Regions from separate parts of the Homo sapiens genome. Here all the other regions are linked to region 5. The links are contacts of gene promoters, found by promoter capture Hi-C in blood cells and fetal thymus (Javierre and others, 2016). All regions are on one chromosome and are shown on one strand. The core of a region is centred on a gene start or on the middle of the fragment in contact, and the rest is flanking DNA. Distances in the headings are between cores, read along the strand shown. Region 1 overlaps CYTIP (cytohesin 1 interacting protein). Region 2 has its middle 2.8 kb from the start of CYTIP. Region 3 overlaps LOC105373714 (a long non-coding RNA gene). Region 4 overlaps LOC105373712 (a long non-coding RNA gene). Region 5 holds the start of FLJ46875 (a long non-coding RNA gene).

Region 1 (2,700 bases), core at 194-2,693, 1.1 Mb after region 5:
TGTGGATCAGAAAGGACCACTGTTTCTAAAGAAGAGCCCCTGGTGCAATGAAGAGTCTTTGAGGGAAAGAATGCTGACTTACACAGGATGCACAAAATAAATGTCACTGTGTGGAGGGGAAACCAGCCTGACCTTGGCTATGGGTCAGACCAAGACATTTTTGGCTCAAGAGTTAAACGGAATCTCATAATTTCAAGATTAGAAACAGGACAGACATGCAAGATAGAAAACAGAATGAAACTTAAAGTCTTCTGGATATGGAGAAGCAGAAATAAATTCTATGGCAATATATGGTTTAAATACACCTATCTGAAACACAGGTCTGAGACAGGTTTTCCGCTTAAGAAAAAAACATTGGCTGAAGCTCCATCACTGGGAAAGGAGGCTGAGAAAAGCTGATGCTGCTGGCTATGGCTCATGTAGAGCTTGTATGTTGAAAGGCAGGAATACCTAAACACAGCCTCGTGACCTGAGCCAAACAGCTCACTGAGTCTTCAGGAAAGGCACGGAAGCCCCCAGACCTGGCTCTGGATTGATAGCCTTGAAGTGCCAAGTGGGGGCAAGCATCCAGTTATCACATTGTGCTGAAGGGAGAGGCTATATGCCATGCAAGAGAAGTAGGCAATCTAAACCTCCAAACACAGATGTTTAATGATAAAAAAGATAATAAAATTGATAATTTGTGCATAGATTGTCTCTAAACAAAATGAAAATAGAAAAGTGTTCAAGGCCAGGTGCGGTGACTCACACCTGTAATCCCAGCACTTTGGGAGGCCTAAGCGAGCGGATCACCTGAGGGCAGGAGTTCGCGACCAGCCTGCCCAACATGGTGAAAATCCTGTCTCTACTAAAAATACAAAAAGTTAGCCAGGCGTGGTGGCAGGTGCCTGTAATCCCAGCTACTCAGGAGGCTGAGGCAGGAGAATCCCTTGAACCCGGGAGGTGGAGGTTGCAGTGAGCCGAGATCATGCCACTGCACTCCAGCCTGGGTGACAAGGGCGAAACTCTGTCTCAAAAAAAAAAAAAAAAAGAAAAGTGTCCAAAAAAGACTTTAAAATAAGAATTTTTATAATCCTCTGAGAGATATAATCCTCTGAGAGATCAATGTTTATAAGAACAAGAAATTTGAAATGACAAAACAAGAACAGATAGACATGAAAAAGAACTACAAGATAATAAGAAAGTAATTTTTATAACTCAATAGAAATAACACATTCTGTACAGAACAGCTAGCAAGAACATTTCTGGAGATGTTACTAAAGAATTCAGAAAGAATATAACACAAAAATATAAATAAAGACCTATGAAATAGTCATTAGGAAGCATGAAAGATAAATCAAGAAACTATGCCTAACATGAATTCCAGAAGATAATACAAGAGTGGTGTAGAAGGTATATTCCAAAAAGATTGAGTTGATAGTTTTCCAAAGCTAAAGAAAGTCTTTAAACAGAAAGAGCACTATAAGATCTACACGGTATAAATTTAGAAATGAATCCAGAACTAATTGCATTGTAGTAAAACCGTAGATCAATAAGGACAAAAGAATATCTTAAAGCAACCAGAAAAAGGATTAAAGATGGCCACAAATACTGGTTTTCTAGAAGATCCAAAAATAGAAAATCCCGTAGAGAAAGAGTTATCAAGAAAAAAAAAGAAGCATAAAAAGTGGTACAAACTGCAAGAAAAAAATGGGGGCACACTCAATTTTTGACAAAAATTTAAAACATCAGAATAATATTTTACTGTCAACTCAGTTAATAAATTTAAAAACTTTGTTAACAAAAACATAAGTCGCTAAAACTGTCTTTAAAAAAAACCAGAAATCCTGAGTAGTCTCACAACTAATAAAGTAATTGAAACAGTACATTAACAGTATTCCCATCAAAAAAGAATCCTAAAACAAAATGATTCAGATGGTATTATTAAAATTCTGCCAGAAAATAAGAAGAGGAAAACAGTCCCCAGGTCATGCTAAGAGTCTAGTAAACTTGATACCAAAACTTAAAAAGATAATCTAAGAAAATAAAATTACAGGCCAGTCTACCTGAAAAATGAAACTCTTTCAAAATCCTAAATACAATATTAGCAAATCGAACCTGTAATTACATTTACAAATTATAAATTTCAAGAATAAGCCAGCTTGGGTTTATCATAGAAATGAAATGGTAGCTTTATATTAGAATATATTTAAATTTCATTCACATATTGACAGAATTTTTTCAAATGAATAAATGAGAAGACCAGCTTAACAGATGCATAAAAAAAGTATTTGATAAAGTTTAATGGACAAGCACTATAAACACTACCAGCAAACTTCGTATAGAAGGGAGTCTCCTTAATCTGAAAGATAGCTCATTCCTAGTGGAAAAGAAATTAGGAAGAATTTCCTTTAAAATCAAGAATAAAACAAGGATGCCTACAACCATAATTTCTATTCATTGTTGTATGGTAGCGCCTAAGCTGTGAAGCAAAGTAAGAAAAAGAACCAAAACTCATTCATAACAGATAGTTATTATCTCTACAGTAAATCCAAAATAATCTACAGATAATTCATTAGAGTTATTAGAATAGATATTACTATTCTATAATTTAGCAAAGTGTTTGAATATAGTCACAGCACAGAAAAATTTATTTCACATGTCTATTAACGTCAATCAAAGCATTAGTTTTTGTAAAGAAACGATAATAAGAACAAAAAA
Region 2 (2,700 bases), core at 96-2,595, 1.1 Mb after region 5:
CATAAATTAAATCATCACTATTAATGGATGACAGCAGTCCACTGTACCCTAGGAATCTGATAAAGTTAGGTAAATATTTTTAATTTTTATTCTTAATATTTTAAAATGCCAAATGGAAATTATACATTTGCTTAATATAAGGCCACCCACTCAGGCCAACTGACTCACCCATTTTTATAAATGACTACTAAAATTGTACCAATTCATTGTAATACTGACCTTAAGCTGATGTAAATCATAGATCATCATTCAATTAAGAAACTGGAAAATACTTATTACTTAACTCATGAAATGTGTTAAGTAAAATTTTTCAAATAATGGGATACCTGGATACAAAACAAGGGTCAAAAGTACCTCTGACATCCAGCCAGCCCATATCAATGTGGTCACACCTGTTAATTACAAATTTTTGACCTAGTCTATTTTTATTGGTCATTTCCCTGTTCTGTCAGTGCCTGTGTCATGCCAGTCACTAATATCATGATCAAAAGTGTCCCTTGTGATAAAGGGTGGAGAAACAGTAATCTTTTAAGGGGAATGTGACTTCCAAACAACAAATCCTTGACTTACAAAGGTGTTCTACTGTTTAGAACATCTCTTTTCTTTTAGGATTTACCTTAGGAAAATTATAATAGACCAGACTCTCTTCCCCTTCAGCCTCCCATTTATTTTAGAGAGGTGATTCTGGAAATGAATTGGATCAAGCTACCTAGGTACTCAAAAGATTTCAGGAGTATCTCACTGTTCACAAAAAAATAAAATAAAATAAAAATTATTTTATATTATCTGATTTCATTCTCTGAAATGTCATATCATTTTTTTAGATTCTTCTTTTGAGACTTAATATATTCTAGTTAGGGCAATAGTTAATTGTATACAAATCTGTTTCTCTGCTAATGTCCAATTTCCTTGAAAGCAAGGAACATCTTTTATCTTTAAATGTATACTTTATGTCCTACATACAAAAATTGTTCAATAAATGTTAATAAAAAGAGAAAGGTAGATATTAAACAAAATGATTAAACAATAGTGTTCTGTGGTATTAATAAGGAAAAAAATTAATTTGGTAGGAAATGTATGTACTACAAGCCCATATTCCAAAGTGCTACAATTTTCACTAAGGGGTGATCTGAGAGATGAGGACAGAGTCTCTTAAAAATACGTCTCATCTGCCTTTATGCTCTAAAAGCTAATATTTGTTATGTGGGGCAAAGCTCTTATTTGGAACATTTTGTTCATAAATATGCAAATACCCTTGGAAGGAATTAATCTTTAGTACAAATGAGATGAACACTGAGGGCCTACAACATGGAGATTTGGTAGAGTCAGGTGAGAGGAATATACCTAAAGCACGGAACAGAGAAAGAAAGGTGGAAAGGTTTGCAAGACAAACTGAGCCAACCTTACAATCATCCATGAAAATCTTAGGCAGCTGTAAGAGGGTTGACAACAGGGTTCCAGTGTCACACTACTTAGATTCAAGTCCTAGCTCTGCTGCTTTAAAGACTATGGACTGAGTTGTATCCCCCCAAAATTCATACATTAAAGCCCTGAGCTTCAATGTGTCTGTATTTAGAGATAGGGCCTATAAGGAGGTTAATGAATCATTTAAGGTTAAACGAAGTCATAAGGGTAAGGCTCAGATCTGATAAGATTAGTGCCCTCATAGGAAGAGGTGGCAGAGGACTCTCTCTCCACCATATGAGGACACAGCAAGAAGGCAGCCTCCTGCAAGCCAGGAAGAGATCCCTCACCAGGAACTGAATCTGCCAGCACCTCAATCTTGGACTTCCCAGCATCTAAAACTGTGAGAAAATAAATTTCTATTGTTTAAAGCCACCCAGTCTATGGTATTTGTTATGCTATGGTATTGGTTATGGTGGCTTGAACTGACTAATACACTCTCTAAACTTTAGTGTTCACATATCTAAAACAAAAATTTGCAGGAAAAAATAGACAGAATAGCCCATGAATAGCACATGGTATAAAGTAAGCTATATCTACTGAATTTTGCTTTAAGTAACAAGCCTTCAAAAGGAAAAGCTAAAAAAGGATATAACATGAATTCTATATGAATAGCCCTATTCATTACTAAGTGCCTCTATGTGCAGCAAGGATGCCCTTGTCACCCTGAAGAAGTCTAAAGGCTACACAATACATGTGAATTCCTTACCATCGAATATCAAGATGTGTTTGAAAACCATCATCAGAGCCAATGTGTGAAATTTCTGGATTATTGTAAGACACAGAAGAAGAGTAACTGGTTGCTTAAAAAATGAGACTTCCTCTATGCCTTTCTGATCTTAAGATAGCTGTTGAGTTTTTTGTTTGTTTTATTTTTGCTATTTGCCTTTATTTGCACAAGAAGATTTTATCTGGCTTCCTGGAACATCACAGGATTTTGTTTTGTTGTGGTTTGGTTTGCTAATTTGTTTTATTTTGGCCTTTTGCCTTCATTTGGAAGGGAAGTTTTTATTTGGGTCTCTGGAATGATGTAGGAGATGTGTTAAAGTCATATAGACAATATTTGAATATTGTGCCTTTGAATTTATATAAGGTAAATTTGATTTAGTAAAGTTACTCTCATATATGAGGATCCACTAACTGTGAAAACTGCTCTGTCCTATGTATCACCTTATTTGAGTGATGGAGCTGGGTAGACAGATGTCCTCATCCAACTCAGTGTGGATCACTGGAATT
Region 3 (2,700 bases), core at 8-2,507, 1.6 Mb after region 5:
GTCCGTGGAAGGCAATTTTATATTCTCTTGCAAAATTATAAATTCACATACACTTTGACCTTGGAATTTCATTCTAGGAATATTTCCTACACATATACTCACCCAATTCTGAAATGACAGATGTGGGAGGTTTTCTTTGCAGCACTATATATAAAAGCAAAAGATTGAAAACAACCTGCCTATCAATAGGATATTGAGTCAGTAAATTATGAAACATTCTTACAATGGAACACTATGAAGCTGCTTTTTAAAAATAATAATAATAATAAAGTTGTTTTCAATGTATCGATATGAACTGAGCTCCTCAATTAGCAGTAAGTAGGAAAAAGAATCCTGCAAGGTTCAGCAAAATAGATCGTATGCTACCATATGCTATCATTTAAATAAAAAAAGAGATATACGTCTATGTTGGGTAGTATAATTGGACACAAATCCTCAGAAATGGATGGGGCTTTGAACAACGAGAAGGAAGGAAAGGACAGGGCAAGATGTTTCACTATTTTGAACAGAAAAAAAAGACTATGTGAACAAATTACCTATTCAAAAGTTGAGAAGAAGAAAAGGTTGTAGGGTCTGGAGCGAGGCAGTCCTGGTCTGTATACTAGTTCTAGCACCTTTCTTTATATATTTATGTATATATTATTATTATTATTTAGAGATGGAGTCTCACTGTGTTTCCCAGGCAAAGCTTGAATTCCTAGGCTCAACCAGTCCACCCACCTCAGCCTTGTGAGTAGCTGGGACTACAGGCACGTGCCACCATGCCCATCCGGTTCTAGCACTTTCTGACACCATAACCTCAGAGTCCTTTTCTGTAAAGTGGAGTAGATAATATTACCTGCCTCATGAGCGAGAAGGCATGCATATAGCATGCAGTGGAGGTGGCACAGTGCCTGGGTCCAGTAGATGCCAGGCATTACCATGATCTTTCTGATTAATATTATCACCAACCTTCTCATAAATAACTGAGTACTTGAAGAACAGTGTGCAGTATCGTGGTGGGAGTTATGGAAGTGATTACTTAAAATTTTTCAGCTCCAAAGACATATGCTGAAGGAATCAGTATCATCAGAAGCATGTATAGAACCCCATGTCTGCACCTAGTGCTCTTCTCTGCAGAATTAACAAACAAGCACCCCCACTGAGTTTCATGTCATGTACCTCTCTTTCCAAGTTCTGATGTGGGAAGTGGAAAGATGCTGATTGGTCTGGCTTGGGGCAGGTGCCTGTCTCTGGACAAGTGAGAAAGAAATAGCAGTGCTCACAGGTGCAAGCCGTTGAAGGGAGGAGGAGCAGATCTCAGTGGATAATGAGGTGAACTGGGCAAACAGCAACTGGTCCCGGCTACTGACATTTTTGTAGCATCTCTGTTTTTGAAAAGGCGAAAGTGGGGAGGTGGGTGGGGGGTGGATATTTTCCGTAATATCTACATGATCCCAGGCAGCAGGCTGGGTGGTGCCTGCAGTGAGGGAAGATGCTGTTCCTTGCAGAAATGTAGTAGGTGTGGCTTAAAGCCTCAGCTGCTGGCTGGCCTGTGAGCTTAAGAAAGCAGAGAAGCAAGTGGACACAACCTTGAATGCACCTGAAACTTCCAGAAGCCCACAGATGCACTCCAAATGTTCCTGAAAACCTAGAAATTCTATGTAAGTTTGTCTGTATATGGGAATATACATTTTTCCAGGGAAACCCATAACTTTCATCAGATTCTCAAAGAGGGGTGCTATCCATTAAGGATTCTGAGCCCCTGCTAGACCAATGATAGCATATGCCATGACCCAAGGATTATGATTAATCCAACCCTAGAACGAGAGGCCCACACCATAAAATAAAGCTTTCCACAAAACATAAAGAATAAAAGAACCACTGCCTTGATATAGTTGCTTTTTAAGCACCCATTCTTGTACTCTCTGTTTTGCCATATTCACTTTTATTATTTACTGAATATTCCTCTTTAAATTTGTTCACTTTTTAAACTTACATGCCCAGTTTAGCCTCTTCTTAAGCAAAAATAATTGTGAAATCAGGGTTATATTTTGCTATTGCCAGTTTTCTTCCTAATGTATATTAGAAGAAATTTATTACTATTAAAATTTAAAAATGTTTGTATCATTTCCAAAATTATTTAGTGCATACAACAGAGATGGGCTTATGGCACTCAGGAAAACACTGTCTCTAAATATTCCTAAAATTCACTTCAGGCATCCCTTTCACAGAGAAGGAACCTGAGGCAGGAGACAATTAATGTAACTTATTAGAGATTCTAAGCAAATGTGGAAAAACTTTGTCAGGTATTGGGCAACATTGTTCCTACTAATGACTCAGCCCTGTGCTTATTTTATTGCAGACAGTTTAAAGAGATGTTTTACTGTTCTCACGTTTCCCCGCTACCCCATAAAGAGAACCAACTAGACGAGAGTAAAAACTTGATCAATTTAATACTCTGGTCATGATCCCAGCAACTAAGGAAGGGGGCTGTGGGGGGGAAAGCCAGCGAGTTTCTTTCTACTCAAATTCCATCTCATTTTTATTTTCTCTTAATGTTTTTTTGAATCCCAAGTTCCAAAACCTGTCCCCTATTATGCAGTGCAAACGAGAACAGATGGGGAAAAGTTATGTTGGAAAGGGCTTTGGAGGGCCACAGAGAAGAGAAATATGACTACTCAATGTGTCACACACCAACTTGCAGCTGCCACCAGCCCT
Region 4 (2,700 bases), core at 116-2,615, 1.1 Mb after region 5:
TTCGTGTAGGAGAAACTTAAATGTGGGAAATAATTTTAGGGTAAAGAAAGCCTCAGTTTTAGCCTTTCCTAGGTTGTAGAGATCTGGAAGATAATTCTGAGAAAGAAACCAAGAAGAAGCTAAGACCTCAGTTACAGGGTCTGGAATGGTCAGGTCAGCACGAGGACTGGCCTGTGAAGTCTTCTGATGATCTAAAGGAGTGCAGGACATGGCAGACCTGGCACTCTTCAGACCCTCAGAGAAGAACCAACTGGTTATTTCTCTTCAAGCAATCACTTAAGGTGGCACTTTCCTGAAAGGAAAGACCATTCATTATTGCTATGGATTGTCAAGGGAATTTGTAGATAGTCTTCTTCTGGGCCAGACACGGTGGCTCATGCCTGTAATCCCAGCACTTTGGGAGGCCGGGGCAGGCCGATCACGAGGTCAAGACCAGCCTGGCCAACATGGCAAAACCCTGTCTCTACTAAAAATACAAAATTTAGCTGGGCGTGGTGGTGCATGCCTGTAATCCCAGCTACTTGGGAGGCTGAGGCAGAAGAATTGCTTCAACCCGGGAGGCGGAGGCTGCAGTGAGCCAAGATCGCACCACTGCACTCCAGCCTGGGTGACAGAGCAAGATTCCATTTTGTGGGGCGGGCGGAGGGGAAGATAGTCTTCTTCTTAAGTTTTTAGTTTTTCAGTGTTAAGCAAGACCTCTGGGGAAGAGGGTTAGATGAAATCCAGTGACCACACGTAAGAACTGAGCGGTATCATTGAGCATCCATCTGGCCCTAAAAAAGCAGAGAAAGTATCCAGAATAGATTAAAATATATATCTCATTCTCTCTCTCTTTTTTTTTAAAGGGGGAGGCAAAATGGAAATTGCCCTAGCCTGAATCCTAGCATTTGCAGTAGAGAACATGCTGGAAGACACTATCAAAAATCAGTTTGTGGGGCCACAGTTCCTGCCAGAGTAACCTAATTGTCTGACTCACTTTTAATCTCAGTGGATGTGGTGAGAATGACTGATGTTGCTTAACAGCATTTAGTCTTGGTGTTAAATATGGGAAATTTACAAAAAGATTCTTATCTACGGAGGAGTGGAAAACATCACCACACAGAGATGAAAGGGCCCAAGAGAGGAGAAGGTGGGAAATGTCCCCTTCCTGCCACACGTTTCATCTGTGCATGTAGCTCCGACTGGCTTCAAAGGAAAATCTGCACCCAAGCACCCAAAAGAAGTAGCTAAGTGTGTGGTGGGACTGAACAGCAGGCCCATTACAATAGCATTCCAAAAAAAAATTTAAAAGCCAAGTATATGTATGACCTGAAGGTACTCATGGAAAAATGACAAACTATTCAAAACTGAAAAGAGGCTTACTAAAATATTGTTACCAGGTGCAAAGAGAATCATTTCTCAACATTATAGTTTTTAATACAAGAGAAGAAAGATTTGGAGCAACAAATCACAGAAAGAGCTTTTCTTAAAAAACAACGTTGTATGACTTTAATATGCAATTTTCTGTGCCCCTAATTCCCAGACTAGCTTACACATCAGATGGATCTTGTTAGTATAGTTGAAGATGGAAGGAAACATTGCTGGTTCCTCTTCTCATAAACGTACCATGTGATAGAGCTCACTTCTAAAAAGAGATGAGGAAAATAAAGGCATAAGATATATATACCATGTAACAAAACTGCACTTGTACCCCTTACATTTATACAAGTTTTTATAAAGGCAAATGTAAGTATGCTTTCTTTAAAAAACTAAAAAGATACATATACCAAAATATTTAAAGTCTTCCCATGACAGCATATTGAGTAAACAACCATTGGCACTACTATATATTTTTGCAGCTATAAGAGTCATTAGTTGTTATGTGCTAACATATAAAAGGAATCAAATTTAATATATCCAATTTGGAGGAAACTGTCCTATTGTCCTTTGTCAATTATAGGTTTTAAACATCCTTTATGAAATCACGTTTTGATGTCTTGATTTAGGAAATATGATCAGAGTAACTTGACATCAAATTAATCATACCTACTTTCTTATCATATTTGCTTTACACATTTTATAGACACAAAAACTTGAGTTGATGGTCTAGATTAAACTCAACCATTTCCTGGAGAGAATCTGCGAATATTCTGTTCAAATCAACAGCATTTAGCAAAGGCCTACAACATGTCTGGCTCTAAGTGTGGGAGAACGTGATGCTGAAGTGAGCAAAGCCTAGCTTCTGCCCTGCACGAGCCTTGAGTCTAGCAAAATAACTCAACATGCCCACCTCTACAGAGTACAAGACAGAAAACAGCACAAAGCCATTCAAAGGACACAACAGAGAAATTCATCTCCTCTTCAGAAGGGAGCCGAGGTTGCCTTTGAAGGTGAAAGACAAATTTAGAGAATCAGCACAATTTCAAGTCAGAAATGGTACCAGGGAAGAACCAGCATTTCACATGTGAATGAGAAGGAGAGTCATCAAGAGGAGAAAACTGGGAGAGCTATCAGAGATTGGCGACAAAGCTGGTATGGCAGGAATGTGGGCAGCTGCGTAAGACAGAACTACCGAGCACCTCATTGGTGTAATGAATACACTGAACTTGATTCAGTTATCAAAAAGGAATCGCCAATCTTTCTGAGTAAAGGCATACGTTACTAAATGGGGATTTTAGGAAAATTGATAAGACAGTGGCTTATAAGATAATTGGAAGGAAG
Region 5 (2,700 bases), core at 180-2,679:
GGTTGAAGTTTGAAAATAAATGGAGAATTTCAAATAGTTAATGAATAGATTTAGGAGCTATACTGAAACAACTAGCAGAAAATACATTTTCTGGAGTTCTTTAATTTTGTACGCTTAAAAGTATGGTGTTCCTAAAGATGGCTAATTCTTGTTGAAGTAAGTAGCTCTGGAAGTCATATTTTCCATTTCTCCATACTTCATCTATTAATCAGTTGACTGGCAATTTCCGACACCAGTTTTGCTAAACTTTATAAATTTTGCTTCCTCCAGAGGTAGGAGGGGGAAGGAGATGGGCAATACAGAAACAGATTTTACAGCCAGAATATGACAGGGCCCCTTAAACTACAAATAGATGTAGAATTTTAAATGTAGCTCTGTAGTTCAATTTATACCACAGAAATTGCGAGATGCTATCTTCCTGTTGTTATAACGTATCAGGTCAAGGGATATAAATTGTACCAGGTAATTCATTTTGCTGTTCAGAGAGTCATTAAGTTCCTCCCAGAATATATGTGATTGATATCCCTGGAGGTGAAAGGCTAAAGGAACCATATGGCAACATGTTGCATTCCGTATGCTATCTGCCCATCCGTGCTTAAGCTGTCATTAGCAACATCTGTACCTTACGGAAATCCAGCTGCGCCGACGACGGCTGACGGAATTGTACTTGGGGGGAAAATCTAGCTTAGCGCCATTAACTTGAGACTTAGAGTCTATCTACCAGGACGGATGGAAGCTTTCACAATTAGACGAGACGACACGAATGCTTTATTAAAGTTTAATTTTGAACTCCCAATTAGCGAAAGTGCATTACAAATCGATTGCAATTTCCTAGAAGGTGCAGCAAGTTCTCTGCCTGCCTGCCACGTGCGAGACGCTCCACAGCGAGCTTCCCCAGCTCCGGGCAGCAGAAAGGGGATGGTTCAGAGCCGATCTCCGCATCCCAGGAAGTCCCTAAAATCCGCGCCAGCCCCTCCTCCCGCAGGGCGGGGGCGTCCACGGCGCGAACCCGCCAGAGGTGTAGGGGGAAGTGTGGGGGGCTGGTCCGCAGCCTTCGAGGGGTGGGGCGACAGGAGCGAGCGGCCGGGGGAGGAGAAAAAGGCGGGCGGCGGGAGAGGGGGCCTCTATTATCTCGGCTTCTCGGGAGGAGCCTCATCTAGTCAGTCACGCAGAAGTTTCTCTTTCGCTCTTCGCGCTACACACCCAGATTGGCTTCCAGCGCGCAGGCGAGTGGGGCGAAGGAGGGGGGACAGGAGTCCCGGAAGGGCCGTCCGGCGTTCACACCCACCCCTGTTCCGCTCCTCCCGCCCCAAACAAAGTCCCCCGACTCTAGGTCCAGGATACGTTACCTGCCCGGCGCTCCCGGCCCCTCGGTCACCGCATCCCCCGCTGGGCGCGCCTGGTACGGGTCCCGCTCCCCGGGGCTCACAAAGTGGTCGCCCCTGGCTGGGCGGCTGGGTAGATGCCCCTCTCTGGACATGTTGGGGCGGTTTTTGGGGTGGAGGGAACGCGGGAAGTGAAAGCGGAGGCTGGGACAAGGGGAACTTACTGATAAAATGGAAAAAAAAAAAGCCCACAGGGCCCAGGTCCTGGCCGGGGGCGAAAGAGGCCTGTTACCTTTCGGGGGGTCGCGGCCGACCAAGAAGGGAGCCGGGGAGTCGCCCGCCCCCCTCCCCCGGCCCCCGGCCCCCGGCCCCCGGCGGCTGCGGCAGCTGCACACAGAAGCCCATTGTCGCCGGCGTCCGGCGCGCAGCCCCGCGGACTCGGCCCCGCGGCCAAGCGCGTCAGCGGCCCCGTCAGCCGGGCCGGGCTCCGTGACGCGCGCGCAGCCCGCGCTATAAATAACCTGCCGCCGGGCGGCTCGGGCGGCTTTCCAGTGACGCTGGGGCGGAGGCGCGGTAGGAGGAGGGCGAAAGGAAACAATAAAACCGCCCGGCAGCCTCCCAAGTCTCCCTCCTCCCTTCCCAGGCCGCCCGCGGCCCTTCGCGTCGAGCTCCTTTTTCCCCGCCCCGGCCCGCCCTGCGGGGAGCGCGGTTCGCGGGTGGGAAGGAGCCCGGCGTGCTGGCGTCCCCGAGTGCTGCCGGGGCCCCGGGGCGGGAGGGGGTTTTTCCCGCACCCTGGGATGGCGAGGAGGGAACTTGGCGACAAGTTTAGTGAGGGGATCGCTGTGTTCCTTTCTAGTCCAGTTAAAATGACCCGAGCTTTTCCCGCTCCCTCACACACCTATTCTAGTACAGGTCGGATGTGTTTTTGGGGTAGTAAGTCCTCAACCGAAAACAAAAGCGAAAAACCTGTCGTCTTCAACGTAAGCATTATCTAGGTTTTTGTGGGGCCAGGCTTGCATTAGTGTTTTCATTCGGGGGGTTGTATTATAGAAAGGGTGCCCCGTAGTAGCAGCGTGAGGAAGGGTTCCAGGACCCAGGCTGTCAGCTCCGGTGCATTTACAGGTCTTTTTGCCGTAGAATTTAGCATAGGCCTGAAACATGGCATAAATGAACTTTCTAAAAGTCTATAATCTCAACGTTAAAGAGCTTACTTTTTAACTCTGGACTTTAATAAAGGCTCCCACTTTAAAAGGGGCTTTCTCTATAGGAAAGTATTAATATTTTTGTGGAGACTCTCACTGCTACCTTCCATACTCAGGCAATTCTGTCACACACCCTGACACTTGTCCTACTCATTAAGGTACCCACATACAAC

The links. The method cuts DNA at HindIII sites, captures the fragments that hold promoters and counts their contacts. A CHiCAGO score of 5 or more calls a contact.
Region 1: a fragment that was not itself captured here is called in contact with the fragment with the promoter of FLJ46875 in region 5 in 2 of 17 cell types (monocytes and M2 macrophages); the score reaches 8.6 in monocytes.
Region 2: a contact is called between a fragment that was not itself captured here and the fragment with the promoter of FLJ46875 in region 5, in 1 of 17 cell types (naive CD8 T cells). The highest score is 5.1, in naive CD8 T cells.
Region 3: a fragment that was not itself captured here is called in contact with the fragment with the promoter of FLJ46875 in region 5 in 2 of 17 cell types (non-activated CD4 T cells and activated CD4 T cells); the score reaches 9.8 in non-activated CD4 T cells.
Region 4: a contact is called between a fragment that was not itself captured here and the fragment with the promoter of FLJ46875 in region 5, in 3 of 17 cell types (activated CD4 T cells, M0 macrophages and non-activated CD4 T cells). The highest score is 6.1, in activated CD4 T cells.

What each region holds. Positions count from the first base shown.
Region 1 is chr2:157,421,658-157,424,357 of GRCh38, forward strand. All of the region lies in intron 6 of CYTIP (cytohesin 1 interacting protein), which reads right to left. Among named protein-coding and RNA genes, the nearest start is that of CYTIP, 21 kb to the right of the region's middle. The HindIII fragment of the contact is 3,981 bases long and covers 1-2,700 here.
Region 2 is chr2:157,445,567-157,448,266 of GRCh38, forward strand. No RefSeq gene overlaps it. Among named protein-coding and RNA genes, the nearest start is that of CYTIP, 2.8 kb to the left of the region's middle. The HindIII fragment of the contact is 5,425 bases long and covers 1-2,700 here.
Region 3 is chr2:157,892,573-157,895,272 of GRCh38, forward strand. The region is part of intron 1 of LOC105373714 (a long non-coding RNA gene); the gene reads left to right. Among named protein-coding and RNA genes, the nearest start is that of ACVR1, 18 kb to the left of the region's middle. The HindIII fragment of the contact is 1,143 bases long and covers 687-1,829 here.
Region 4 is chr2:157,463,404-157,466,103 of GRCh38, forward strand. LOC105373712 (a long non-coding RNA gene) reads right to left here. Exons shown (of 4, transcript XR_923513.3): 4 at 1,143-1,624. Among named protein-coding and RNA genes, the nearest start is that of CYTIP, 21 kb to the left of the region's middle. RefSeq lists an enhancer at 368-1,567. The HindIII fragment of the contact is 2,773 bases long and covers 1-2,700 here.
Region 5 is chr2:156,340,691-156,343,390 of GRCh38, forward strand. It overlaps FLJ46875 (a long non-coding RNA gene), which reads right to left and starts at 1,430. Exons shown (of 1, transcript NR_147695.1): 1 at 1-1,430. RefSeq lists enhancers at 335-890, 891-1,444, 2,652-2,700 and silencers at 992-1,091, 1,632-2,241. The HindIII fragment of the contact is 3,407 bases long and covers 735-2,700 here.